Linked DNA regions of Homo sapiens: region 2 is linked to region 1. The links are contacts of gene promoters, found by promoter capture Hi-C in blood cells and fetal thymus (Javierre and others, 2016). All regions are on one chromosome and are shown on one strand. Each heading gives the region's core, a stretch centred on a gene start or on the middle of the fragment in contact. The rest is flanking DNA. Distances are from core to core; before and after follow the strand shown.

What was found. The method cuts DNA at HindIII sites, captures the fragments that hold promoters and counts their contacts. A CHiCAGO score of 5 or more calls a contact.
Region 2: the fragment with the promoter of SETD1A here is called in contact with a fragment that was not itself captured in region 1 in 1 of 17 cell types (activated CD4 T cells); the score reaches 5.3 in activated CD4 T cells.

Annotation. Positions count from the first base shown.
Region 1 is chr16:31,851,263-31,857,495 of GRCh38, reverse strand. No RefSeq gene overlaps it. Among named protein-coding and RNA genes, the nearest start is that of ZNF267, 19 kb to the left of the region's middle. The HindIII fragment of the contact is 1,077 bases long and covers 3,299-4,375 here.
Region 2 is chr16:30,954,886-30,961,118 of GRCh38, reverse strand. SETD1A (SET domain containing 1A, histone lysine methyltransferase) reads right to left here and starts at 3,365. Exons shown (of 19, transcript NM_014712.3): 1 at 3,155-3,365; 2 at 2,238-2,402; 3 at 1,933-2,028. The coding sequence starts at 2,387. It overlaps ORAI3 (ORAI calcium release-activated calcium modulator 3), which reads right to left. Exons shown (of 2, transcript NM_152288.3): 2 at 6,181-6,233. RefSeq lists silencers at 2,657-2,746, 2,887-3,106 and enhancers at 3,707-3,836, 3,294-4,057. The HindIII fragment of the contact is 14,721 bases long and covers 1-6,233 here.

The sequences.
Region 1 (6,233 bases), core at 2,588-5,087:
AAGTTGAGGTATGTTCCTGTAGGCCTAGTTTGTTGAGCGTTTCTATCATGAAAAGATGTTAAATTTTGTCAAATGCTCTTTCTGCATCTATTGAGATGATTGTATGGTTTTTGTATTTCATTCTGTTAATGTGATGTATTGTGTTTATGGGTTTGTGTGTGGAAATCCATCCTTCCATCCCTGGGATAAATCCTACTTGATTGTGGCATGTTATCTTTTTGATGTGCTGTTGCATTCAGTTTGCTAGTATTTTGTTGAAGATTTTAACATCTTTATTCATCATATTAAACTGTAGCTTTCTGTTTTCATTGTATCCTTGTATTGTTTTCATATCAGGGTAATGCTTGCTTCATAGAATGAGTTACAAAGAATTCCCCCCCCTTCTATTTTTTGAATACTTTGAGAAAAATTGATATTAGTTCTTCTTTATAAGTTTGGTAGAATTCAGCTGTCAAGTTATCAAGCCCCAAGCTTTTATTTGCAGAGAGACATTTTATTACTGTATCAATCTCATTTCTCATTATTGGTTTGTTTGGGTCTTCTATTTCTCCCTGATTCAATAGTGATAGTTTGTATGTGTCCAGGAATTTAGATATTTTCTCTAATTTTTCCAGTTTGTTATCATGCAATTGTTCTTAGGAGTCTCTGATTATCTTTCATACTTCTTTCTGCAGTATCAGTTGAAATGTCTGCTTTTTCATTTCTGACATTGTTTATTTGGGTCTTTTCTCTATTTTTTGTCTAGCTAGTGGTTTATGAATGTTGTTTCATGTTTTCAAAAAAAGTTTTATTTCATTGGCCCTTTGTATTTTTTTAAGTTTCTAGTTTGCTTACTTCTCCGATTTTTATTATTTCTTTGTTTGTTTGTTTGTTTTGTTTTGTTTTAAGACGGAGTCTTACTCTGTTGCCCAGGTTGGACTGCAGTGGTGCCATCTCGGCTCACTGCAGCCTCTGCCTCCTGGGTTCAAGCAATTCTCCTGCCTCAGCCCCCTGAGTAGTTGGGATTACAGGTGTACTCCACCACACCTGGCTAATTTTTGTATTTTTTAGTAGAGAAGAGGTTTCACCACGTTGGCCAGGCTGGTCTCAAACTCGTGACCTCAGGTGATCCAGCTGTCTCAGTCTCCCAAAGTGCTGGACTACAGGCATGAGCCACTGCACCTTGACTGATTTTTATTATTCCTTATGCTTATGTTGAGCTTAGTTTGTTCTTGCTTTTTTGGTTTCTTGAGGTGTATCATTAGGTTGTTTACTGTAAATATTTCTACTTTTTTGATGTAGGTATTTACTGCTGTAAACTTCCCTCAACACTGCTTTTGCTGCATTTCATAGTTTCCAAAATATTGTGTTTTCATCTTCATTTTTTAAATATTTGTTTGGATTTCTGTATTAACCCAATGGTTGTTCTGGAGCATGTCATTTAATTTTCATGTATTTGTACAGTTTTCAAAGTTCCTTTTGCTACTGATTTTTGGCTTTATTTCACTGTAGTATGAGAAAATACTTGATATGATTTCAATTTTTAAACATTTGTTAAGACTCGTTTTCTGGCCTAACAGAGGGTCTATCCTGAAGACTGTTCCATGTGCTTCTGAGAAGAATGTATGTTTTGCAGTCATTGGATCAAGTGTTCTGCAGATGTCTGTTAGGTTCCTTTGGTCTAAAGCAACGGTGCCTAACCTTTTTGGCACCAGGAACTGGTTTCGTGGAAGACAATTTTTCCTAGGACTAGGGGAGGGGGATGATTTCAGGATAATTTAAGTGCATTACATTTATCATTAGATTCTCATAAGGAGCATACAGCCTGGATCACTGGCATGTGCAGTTCACAATAGGGTTTGAGCTCCTATGACAATCTAATGCTGCTGCTGATCTGACAGGAGGTAGAGCTCAGCTTCACTGGCTCACCTGCCACTCACCTCCTGCTGAGCTTCCTGGTTCCTAACAAGCCAGGGGTGGGTATTGGTCTGTGACCCGACGGTTGGGGACCCCTGGTCTAAAGTACAGTTTAAATCTGATGTTTCATTATTGATTTTCTGTCTAGGTAATCTTCCAGGGCTTGTCTAGTGGTGATGAATTTCTTCAGTTTTTGCTTGTCTGGGAACGTCTTTATTTCTCCTTCATTATGAGGTATAACCTTGCTTAGGCTGTGTTTGCTAGTTGAGGCTGTGGTGAGGTTTTGGTAGGAATGGAACACCAGATAGGCCAGTCCTTCAGCCCCCATGGTGACAGTGGCAGCAGTAAAGGGTTGAGGGTGTCTGTCCTTGGGCTGCTGGGTAGTGTATGTGGGCACTGGTGTTAGTGTGCCTAAGCCTGTTGATTCTCAGGCCTTCAGGAGGCTTGCTCTGATGTCTGTAGTAACAGCAGTGGGCTAGGAAATGGGGCAAGTCCTCAGGCCTCTGAGCAGTGTGTACCGTGTGGATGAGGAGAGTAGTGGGGTTGAGGCAACTTCAGGCTTCCAGGCAGCACTCACAGTGTTTGTGGTGGCTGCAATGGGCTGAATCAGACAGTCCCTAGAGCCTTAGGTGACACATGAGTGTGGATGCTGGTGGTTGTCTGGGTGGGCCCATCCTTAGGACCCCAAGAGTACCCAGATGACAGCAGTGGTGGATGGCATGGGAGATTCCTAGACCTTTAGACAGCATGCTTGAGTGCTGGCTGCACATTTTCTTGGCCTGTTTTTAGGACCCTGGTGGACTCATGCCAGAGGCTACCACCTGTACAATGCTGTCCTCAGGTCCACAAGTGGAATATTTGACCACTAAGGGTGGGAGAGAGGCAGGTGAGGTGGGCCTGTTCTCAAGTCCTCCTAGTGATGCACATGAGCATAGGCTGTGGGCAGGGCAGGGGAAGTCCCAGACCTCTGGAGCTCATGCTAGGGCACCAGTGATGGCAGGCCTTCTGGAGCTGTTATTAGGCCCCTGGGAGATGGGTGCACCAAAATCTCAGAAATCGCCACTAAAGAATTTATTCATGTGCAAATAAATAAATAAATAAATAAATTCACTTACACTGTCTTATAATTATGTAATTAGTTTTGCTAGTGTGTGCTTTGTCTTTCTTATGCATTCAAATTATTGTCTGGATTTACTTGCTTTCAGCCTGAAAAACTTCTTTTGCCATTTTTTCATAAGGTCAGTTGGCTAGCAACAAATTGTATCAGTTTTTATTTACATAAAATGTTTTTATTTAACCTTCATTTTTAATAGCTAGTTTTTGTGGGTATAGGGTTCTTATTAGGCAGGCTTTTTCTGTGAGCATCAGACAAAATAATTTATAAAGAAGTAATTGAAAAGCTTCAGAGAAGGAAAATAAATCAAGACCTAAGGACACTGACTGGATTGAGCACCAACGTCATAGTGATGGCAGCTGGGTTTAAGATGACAGGGAGAATTGTCACTGAAGACAGTAGAAGTCTGGGGATCAAGTGGTCCTGACTGCAGCTGAATGGAAAGTTTATTTTGTATTTTATTTTATTTTAATTTTTGAGACAGAATCTCGCTCTGTTGCCCAGCCTAGAGTGCAGTGGCCCGATCTCAGCTCACTGCAACCTCTGCCTCCTGGGTTTGAGTGATTCTTCTGCCTCAGCTTCCTGAATAGCTGGGATTCCAGGTGCCTGCCATGATGCCTGGCTAATTTCCGTGTTTTTAGTAGAGACGGGGTTTCACCGTATTGGCCAGCTGGTCTCAAACTCCTGACCTGAAGTGATCCGCCTGCCTTGGCCTCCCAAAGGGCTGGGATTGCAGGCATGAGCCACCGTGCCCGGCCTGGAGAGTTTATTTGTTAGAGCCTCAGATATGGCACATGAGAGGTACACCAGCATGAACTCAAACATATTCAGAACTGGTGCCTTGGGGGAAAATCTATAGATTAAGTGCATGAGAAGTCACCACTTCAGTATCAGATGATGTTTGATTAAGAAAGTGTAACTCCAAATGTGGCAATCATGATCAAGGTTAAAGTTAGCACTAGTTATAACATAGGTGTGGTTGGTGGTGTCTCAGAAGCAAATAAAAGTTGTCAGTTGCTAAGAATGTGTTAATCATTTTATTCCACATGCTCTCATGCTGACTGTGTAGTTAAACATCCCTGTAAGTAGAAACAACTTCACTGTAAGCGCTATGTAAGCCTGGTGCAGGGGGCATTTTCTTCATTCCCAAAAAAGTTTTACATAGACTACCTGTAATATTGAAACGTAGGGACAACTGGGGACCATGTGTGAAGGCCCCCAGAAATTTCTTCAGTTAGCAAGGATGTTTGGTAAAGCAACACAGAAATTAAACAAAGTTTGAAACTATAGTTATTGCTTCTACTTTATTGGCAATAACTGAGACCAGACAACCCTCCTGGGCAAAATTACCTAAGAAAACAAGCTTGCACACGTTAAAGTTTGAAACCCATCTGTCCTACACTGATCTTTTCCAGGAATTAAATGTGTTCAGTTTTTCCTTTTGTTGCTCCCCTTTCCAATAATCTCGAGGCCAGGGCTGTCCTGCTTCTACAGGTGACATGACAGTTATGGGCCTGGAGGGAGACGAGCTGACAGTATCCCTTCTTTATAACCAAGTCTCAGGGACCACCATCCACACACACAGACTCACTCCAGGACTCCGCTGGGCAAATGGATGTTTCTCAGCTTTAGTAAAAGTGAGTGATCACGACTTACGTTGGTAGTGGCAGGAGGATTTTCTCAATGATGTAGATAACTCTCTCATAATTTTGTTCTTGTGTCTCACTGAATTATAACTATTTTCAGATAAAAATATAAATTTTAATATCATGAGCACATAAATTTACAGATGTTCGAAAGGATATTTGTAATTTTGTAATGGTATATGTTATAGGTAAGACGTTTATTTAGAAACAGAATGCTTGTTTTTCGGTCATGTAAGGAAAAATTAGCATTTAGACAAAAAGGTTTTTTTAGCAAGGAAATTTTACTTTCTGCAGAAAGGGTGCTCCTTGCAGATGGAACAATGGCAAGAGCACATTTGAACAAGGGAGGGAAGCAATTTTTATTTTTTATGTAGCTTGTCCCTGCTCTTGTGTCCTGTTTTTATTGGCTGGAGACAGACTTCATAATTTAAATTAAAACCTGATTGGCTAATAACTTAAAATTTTTTAAACAGGTAAAAGCAATGGAAAGATAAATGAAAAGAGGAAGTTGTTTATGAAAGGACTTAGAAAAGTAATAACATTCCTAAATAAGGAAGTGACAGGCTGTGAGCTGGGACATGCCTGTGAGCACATCCAGGACAGGTATTTCCGTTAAGGCACAAGGACATAGAATGTACTATGTGCCTGTGAGCATGTTTAACAGCTACATAGGATAGGGCTTAAACAAAGAGTTATTAGCACAAAGTAAGGAGGCTTGAAAGAAATTAGTCTTTAAAAGAAACTATTATTTCTAACACTTATTTATCCTGTAACAAGAATGGAAACTTTGAAGAGGAAACTTTTTACTTTCTGCAATTCCTTCCTTTTGATTTTATAGCTTTTTTTCTTTAAAATTTTTTAACATGTTTTGGTTTAGCTGTTTTGCTTGAGTTTTTAAAAGAAAAAGTTTTTCTGGTTGGTGAAATGCCACGGTAAAAGGGATAGCCAATTGAACTAGAGCACAAATATTGCTTTAATTATTTGGCAGAGTGTTCAGTAAAGGTCTTCTACAATATTATTACATACCTGTTTGGTGATGAATAAGGGGGGATTGATGGGTCAGCTCTTGGAAGTGCCTGACTTCACTGCATTAAGTTTTCAAGGAACACTAAATTTTTCCCTTGTTGTTGGAGACACCAGGTAAAATTGGTCTTGGAAGATGGAGGCTAGATGGCCCTCGGGGGCTGACCCGCAGGGTACTGCATTTTAGGAAATAGTAGCGAGAGCGTTTGACACAGTTTATTATCTCAGGCTGTAGGATTTTGAAAAGGAGCTACCATGTAGTCCATGTTTTGTTGATTAGAGGACTATTTGAGTGGAAAGGGGACAACCTGGGCCTCTAGCCTACCATGCACACGTGTTTAACGGTCACTTTTATTTAGATGCAGATGAAATATTTAATTTATTTTAACCAGCCATTTACATTTTGATATCCTGTTTTAATTGTTATTGTTTGCTTTAGGTTTTTTATTTTTACTGTAGAGACTTTGGTCTTGTTTTTGTGTCTGGGAGGAGTGATAACTAAACAGGCATTAAAAGTAGTAACTTGAGGTGAGTTAGATTTAGTTATATTAATA
Region 2 (6,233 bases), core at 2,116-4,615, 900 kb after region 1:
AGACCTGACCCCTTTTCCCTGAATTCTTCTCACCACAGAATAACAGCAAGAATTAAGAACAGAAATGTGCAAACTAGGCCGGGTGTGGCAGCTCACACTTATAATCCCAACACTTTGGGAGGATGAGGTGGACGGATCACCAGAAGTCAGGAGTTCAAGACCAGCCTGTCCAACATGATAAAACCCTGTCTCTACTAAAAATACAAAAAAAAAAATTTAGCTGGATGTGATGGTGGGCACCTGTAATCCCAGCTACTCAGGAGGGTGAGGCAGGAGAATCACTTGAACCTGGCAGGCAGAGGTTGCACTAAGCCGAGATCACACCACTGCACTCCAGCCTGGGCAACACAGCGAGACTCCGTCTCAAAAAAAAAAAAAAAAAAAAAAAGAAAGAAAGAAAGAAATGTACACACTGAGGAATAAATATACGTGGAGAGAACGAGCTACAGGGCGATGATTTCCTAGCTCAGCCTTTACTAGGTAACTACCATGAACGAGGCACTGGAAATACAGAGATAGAAAGGAAGAGATTCCCATACAGAAAAGCAGCATGACATGCACATACAAACACAACACGACCCAGTGGCAGCTGACGCATACATGGTGTTCTGGAGCCCAGGGAAGGAAACTTTTGTACAGAGTATGATCAGGGAAGAATTCATAAAGATGGTGTCATTCTTACTGAGATTTGGGGATTAACAATTCATCAAATGACAAGGACCCCTGGAACATGGAAATATAAAACAACTTGGTGTTTTTGAAAAACCGCAAAGCGTTATGGTGTGGATGTAACACAGGGGTGTGGTGTCAAGGCGGAGGATAAGGCTTGGCCAGGTCAATAACCATACATGTCAGTGTCCCAAAACATGGACTTGGCAACAAAAGGAAAACAGCAGCGTAGTGAAGCCAAAGAGACAAATGACAGCAAGGCAGAGGAGAAACTGAGGCAAGAACGAAGGCAAGGAGACCAGGTGAAATGAATACCAAGGTCTACATTAAGTGGCAATGAGAATAGAAAGATGAAGAATAAAAAAGAAAAGAGCCAGGAGGATTCGGTGACCAACTGAGAGAGAAAAGGAGAGAATCACAGGCTGCCAGGCTGTACAGCTGAGTCGATGGTACTGCCACATATGAGTAGAGGGAAAATGAAAAAGGTAGGTTAAGGAGGTAGATAATTTGTTTTAAATCCCTTAAATCTGAAACATGTGTGGCCTCCAAATGAAACTGTCCCCCTACCAGGCATACAAGCCTAGAGATGTTGGCTGGAAACAGATACTTGGAAGTCATCAACATTTAGGTAATAGTTGAAGCTGTGGGTGTGAAAGAGATTGTCCAAGTGAAGTGTACAAAGTAAAAAAAAAAAAAAGAAGAAGAAGAATGAAGGGACCCCACAAACAATTTATTTAGAAAGGAAGAATAAAGAATCAGAGAAGGAAATGAAGAACCACCAGTGTTCCAGGCCCAGTTCAAGGCCTGAAGAATATCTTGTCTAGGGTGGAGAATAGGAGTCCTCGAAGGAAACAAGAGGGAAATGACATCGCCAAATGAGAGGCGGGGAATAGTGCTACCCAGGTAGGCAGTGGCCTTGTCACTCCCCTTGACTGTCAAGGAACTGGGAGATCCCACTCTTGTGTGCTATGATGCACTGTCTACGAATATACAGTGATAGGTATAGCAGCTAAAGAGTCTTTACCTCACCCTTCAAGAAGTCGACACCCCAGCCACCAGGGATACACTTAGGACACCTGACCTGCACCTTTCTGGAAGATTAAGTGTACCTCCTATCCAAAACAACTGAGTCTCACAGCCTCAGAGGTTGCTAGATCTGGCTGAGATCCTTTCATTGGAAACCCTTTTATTCAGCTATAGTGCCAAGACGCATCCTCCACACCCTCTTAGGACTACCACACCAGGAGCCCAGCAGACACTTACCTTAAACTTAGGGACTGGGAGGGAAAAGTCTCTGTTTTTGGACCTGACATGGCAACGGGGGTCTTGGAGGTCTTCGACTGGTATATACTTTGAGTCCTAGGAAGGAAAGCAGCAGCAGAAAGAGAGCTCAGGGTGAATCCAGGCTAGGGAGCTCCAAGCAGCCCATCTGGACACACACATGCAGAAGAGCTGGGTCCAACTGCCCACTTTCAAGAAGGCAGGCTACCGTTCTAGGTGCTGAACAGAATCACAGAGGACGGGCGCCTGGAGCTCCCCGGATGGCAACCAAAGACCCGGGCACTCACGTTGACACTGAAGTGGACTCCATCATAGCGGTACACCTTCTGAGAAGGCCTGCGCAGGGCAGGGTCCAAGGCAGGATCCACGATGAGCTTGTAGTTCCGCCACTGGAAGCTCGGGGCCTTCTGCCCATCTCCCCCACCTTCCTGATCCATCTTTGCTCATTTACACTGTTAGGGGAAGAGGGACACGCAAGAAGGATCAGGACTTGGGGCCTGACTCCCCTGCCTTTCCTCATTGGCTAGCCCCGATTCCAGGTTCTCCCATCACTCCAGTTTCCAACCCTCACCCTGACCCGGGGCTCCCCCGGATTCTCCCCCAAGTACCCTCTGTTTCGCCACAACAACCCAGCCTCTTTCCACCTCCCAACTCTACTGTCAGGCCCCCAGGCCCGTCTCGAGCCCCCTTACCTTCCCGCTCTCCCTAGCGCGCGCCCCACTTGGCCTCGGAGCAAGACCCCTCCCCCGCCCCCTGCAGGCCCCGCCCCCTCCCGCCTCCTCACCGGCCAGCGGCCCGGGCCGAGCCCGGCCACGGCTCCCACACACCCGCTCTCCTCCCCGCGCCCCGATCCTCCGGCCGAAAGGTGGCACCTCTTCGGGGCGTTGGAAACACCGCGAGACCGAGCCCGAGACCCGGCTTCGACCCCGAATCCGGGCGGGGGGGTGGGGGGAACGTGCACCGCTGCCCTCTCCTCCCGCCCCGGCGCGTTCTGCACCCCCCCCAGCAGGTCTCCGCGCACGCGCGCCGCGCGGCCCCACTCACCCGCTCCCGGCGAGCGGCTCCCCCTCCCCCCACCTCGCGCGGCACCTCAGCGGCGCGAGGCGGCGGCAGCGGCAGCGCGAGACCCGGCCCCGCAGCGGTGGCGGCGGCGGCGCCCCCCCACCACCACCTCCCCGGCGCGCGCACCAAACACCACTGCCACCTGCGCGAGGCCCAGCGGGCACAGGGTCTGCATTCGCACTTTCGCCACAGGCGCTGCCGGGGGACCCACGGGGCCGAGGGTAGCGGCTTCGCCTCGGCCGGCGCCCTGGGAGGCTCGGAAGTTGCGGCCCAGGGAGCTTGGAGATTGGCCGCATCCCCCGGAGAGTCGGCTTCGCCACGACGATCTAGATGCTGCGGCCCGGGACCTTGACGAATCGGCGGCGACGAAAGCTGCGACTAGTCCCTGAGGAAAAGGGGCGGGGCGGAGGGGAGGAGGCCAGCCAGCGCTGGGGAACCTTCAGTGGCGCGTTCTGCAGACGCAGATTCACCGGGCGGGCGGGGCGAATCGCTGGACAGGATGCGCGCCGCTTTGCTTCTCTTCCCCGTCCCTTCCTTGCACTGCCAAATTCTGAGAGGCTGCAGATTCGCCACTGTTCCCGGCCTCAGCCGTAGCCTCCCCTTCATCCGCCTTGGTGGAGTCAAGAAAATAACGGCCCGTTAGCCAATCCCTGCTGGCAGAGTCGACAACTTTTTTTGGATTTTTCTTACTGGCCCAAGTGAGAGAATAGCCCGCTTCTGTCCCTGGGGAAAATGCCTCCAGCCCAGCGCTCCTCTCAGAGTCCGATGAGAATTTTCAGCCGAGTATCGAGGGACCCGAGGAATTCTGAGGATCCGACCTGGCGAATCTGCGGATTCCGCTGTGGGCGGGGCCGAGTCAAGGGGCGGGGCCAGGGCGTGCAGAGCCTGGGACTAGGGGGCGCCTCCGGGAGGACCCACGAGGACTCACCCGGATGGGAGGGACGGCCGGGAGGTGGAAAAACACAACCGTGAGCGGTGACTCAGGCGGTTTGCCCCGCCTCGCACATAAATGCAGGGTACCTTTCCTTCCCGTTATTGCCCTTGGGTGTCTGGCTGCTTAGGATGCCCATTTGCCAGATGGGGAGAGTGAGGCCTGTAGAAGGTGCCCTACTTTGCCGTACTCAAACCCACCATTAGTGGTTAAATCCAGGGACCGCCTCAAGGTTTTCTGATGAGCCTAGTGGGGCCTAAGTGCCCTTAAATGGGCCTTGTAATAATAAACGAGGTCCTACAGGAACGGGACTGGACTGGTGTGTCCTCCTGGCGTCATGGTCCCACTGCCCGCTTCTTTGGCTATGGCGCCCTATGCTCACGGGATGCCTCCGCACAAGGGCAGCAGCGGCCCAGGCCTACCCCTGGAACTCGGGCTGAGGTTTCTGAAGGCTGGGCACCGTTTTGATCCCGTGTGGGCGCAGGCACTCCCAGGAGGTCCCTTTTCCTGAGCTGAGGATGCCCCAAGCTCCTGATATGTGTACATCAGGCCCTCGCTATATGGCCTTGGGCAAGTCATTGACCTAAGTTTCAGAGTCTTCCTTTAAACTTGGATGTCAATTTGTACACATCCGAACAGTGCAGAAAAGACCCTTAGAGCCTGGTTTATGCAAATTCACCATTTTAAGTAATAGGAAAAGGTGGAAGGGAGACTTATCCAAGGTCTCACACCACAAGATAGAAGAAGATTAGGACTCTACAATTTTGAGGGAAATAAGGCTGAAAAAAATAATTTACGTGGAGGCATAGGTGTTGAGATCAGATTCCTTTCTGTTCCAGTTGAAAGGCACTGGTTCCTTTTCTCAAATCAAAGAGAGATTCCCGTGTGAGGGGTAGATAGTCCAAGTTCAGTTTCATGGACTAGCTGTGTGGTTTTGGGCAAGATCTTCAGCCTTCTTGGGCCTGTTTCCTTATCTCTGAAATGAAAATGATAAAGACTTAACGCTTAAGGTGTTGTGAGAGTTAAATAAGATAACCTATGAAAGTCCCCTAGTATGTGGTAGTTGCTCAAGAAAGAAACTTGAGGCCAGGTGCAGTGGCTAACACTTGTAATCTCAGCACTTTGGGAGGCCAAGGTGGGAGGATCACTTGAGCCCAGGAGTTCAAGACCAGCCTGGACAACATAGTGAGACCCTCCTCTCTACAAAAAAAAAAAAAAATTAATTAGCTGGGTTGGTGGGACGTCCTGTGGTGCCAGCTATTTGGGAGGCTGAGGTGGGAGGCTCATGAGCCTGGGAGGTCAAAGCTGCAGTGAGCCAAGATTGCACAGCTGCACTCCAGCCTGGGCAAAAGAGTGAGACTGTCTCGGCTGGGCGCGATGGCTCACACCTGTAATCCCAGCACTTTGGGAGGCCAAGGCAGGGGGATCACTAGGTCAGGAGATCAAGACCATCCTGGCTAACACGGTGAAACCCCATCTCTACTAAAAATACAAAAACAAAATTAGCCGAGCGTGGTGGTGGGCACCTGTAATCCCAGCTACTTGGGAGGCTGAGGCAGGAGAATGGCGTGAACCCAGGAGGCGGCGCTTGCAGTGAGCCGAGATCATGCCACTGTACTCCAGCCTGGGCGACAGTGCAAGACAGAGCGAGACTCGGTCTCAAAAAAAAAAAAAAAAAAAGAGTGCTTATACTAAACACTCAGGGAGGGCTGGGTGTGGTGGCTCATGCCTGTAATCCCAGCACTTCGGGAGGCCAGACAGGTGGATCACCTGAGGTCAGAAGTTTGAGACCAGCTTGGCCAACATGGCGAAACCCCGTCTCTAATAAAAATATAAAAATTAGCCGGGTGTGGCGGCACACACTTGTAATCCCAGCTACTCTGGTGGCTGAGGCAGGAGAATTGCTTGAACTTGGGAGACGGAGGTTACAGTGAGCTGAGATCGCACCACTGCACTCCAGCCTGGGCAACACAAGACTCCGTCTCTAAATAAATAAATACTCAGTGGAAGAGATAGAGACTCTGAACTCAGGGACAAGAGTTCAAAGCCTGTAGCCTTGGAATAACTCTCCCCATTCAGAAGCTGTTGGCCCTTGTTAGCATCTGACAGGGTTACACCTGAAACCCACTCCCCTCCCAGGTCCTGTCCACCCAAACTTGCCACCACCCGGCTCTTGGGAACAAGTAAAGTTATCCTAAGAAGGCCTGCCCTGCATCCCCTTCACAGCAACAGGGACATCTGTGAAACACGATTTATTATATAAAACAAGGTGCATCCAAATTCAGTGTCA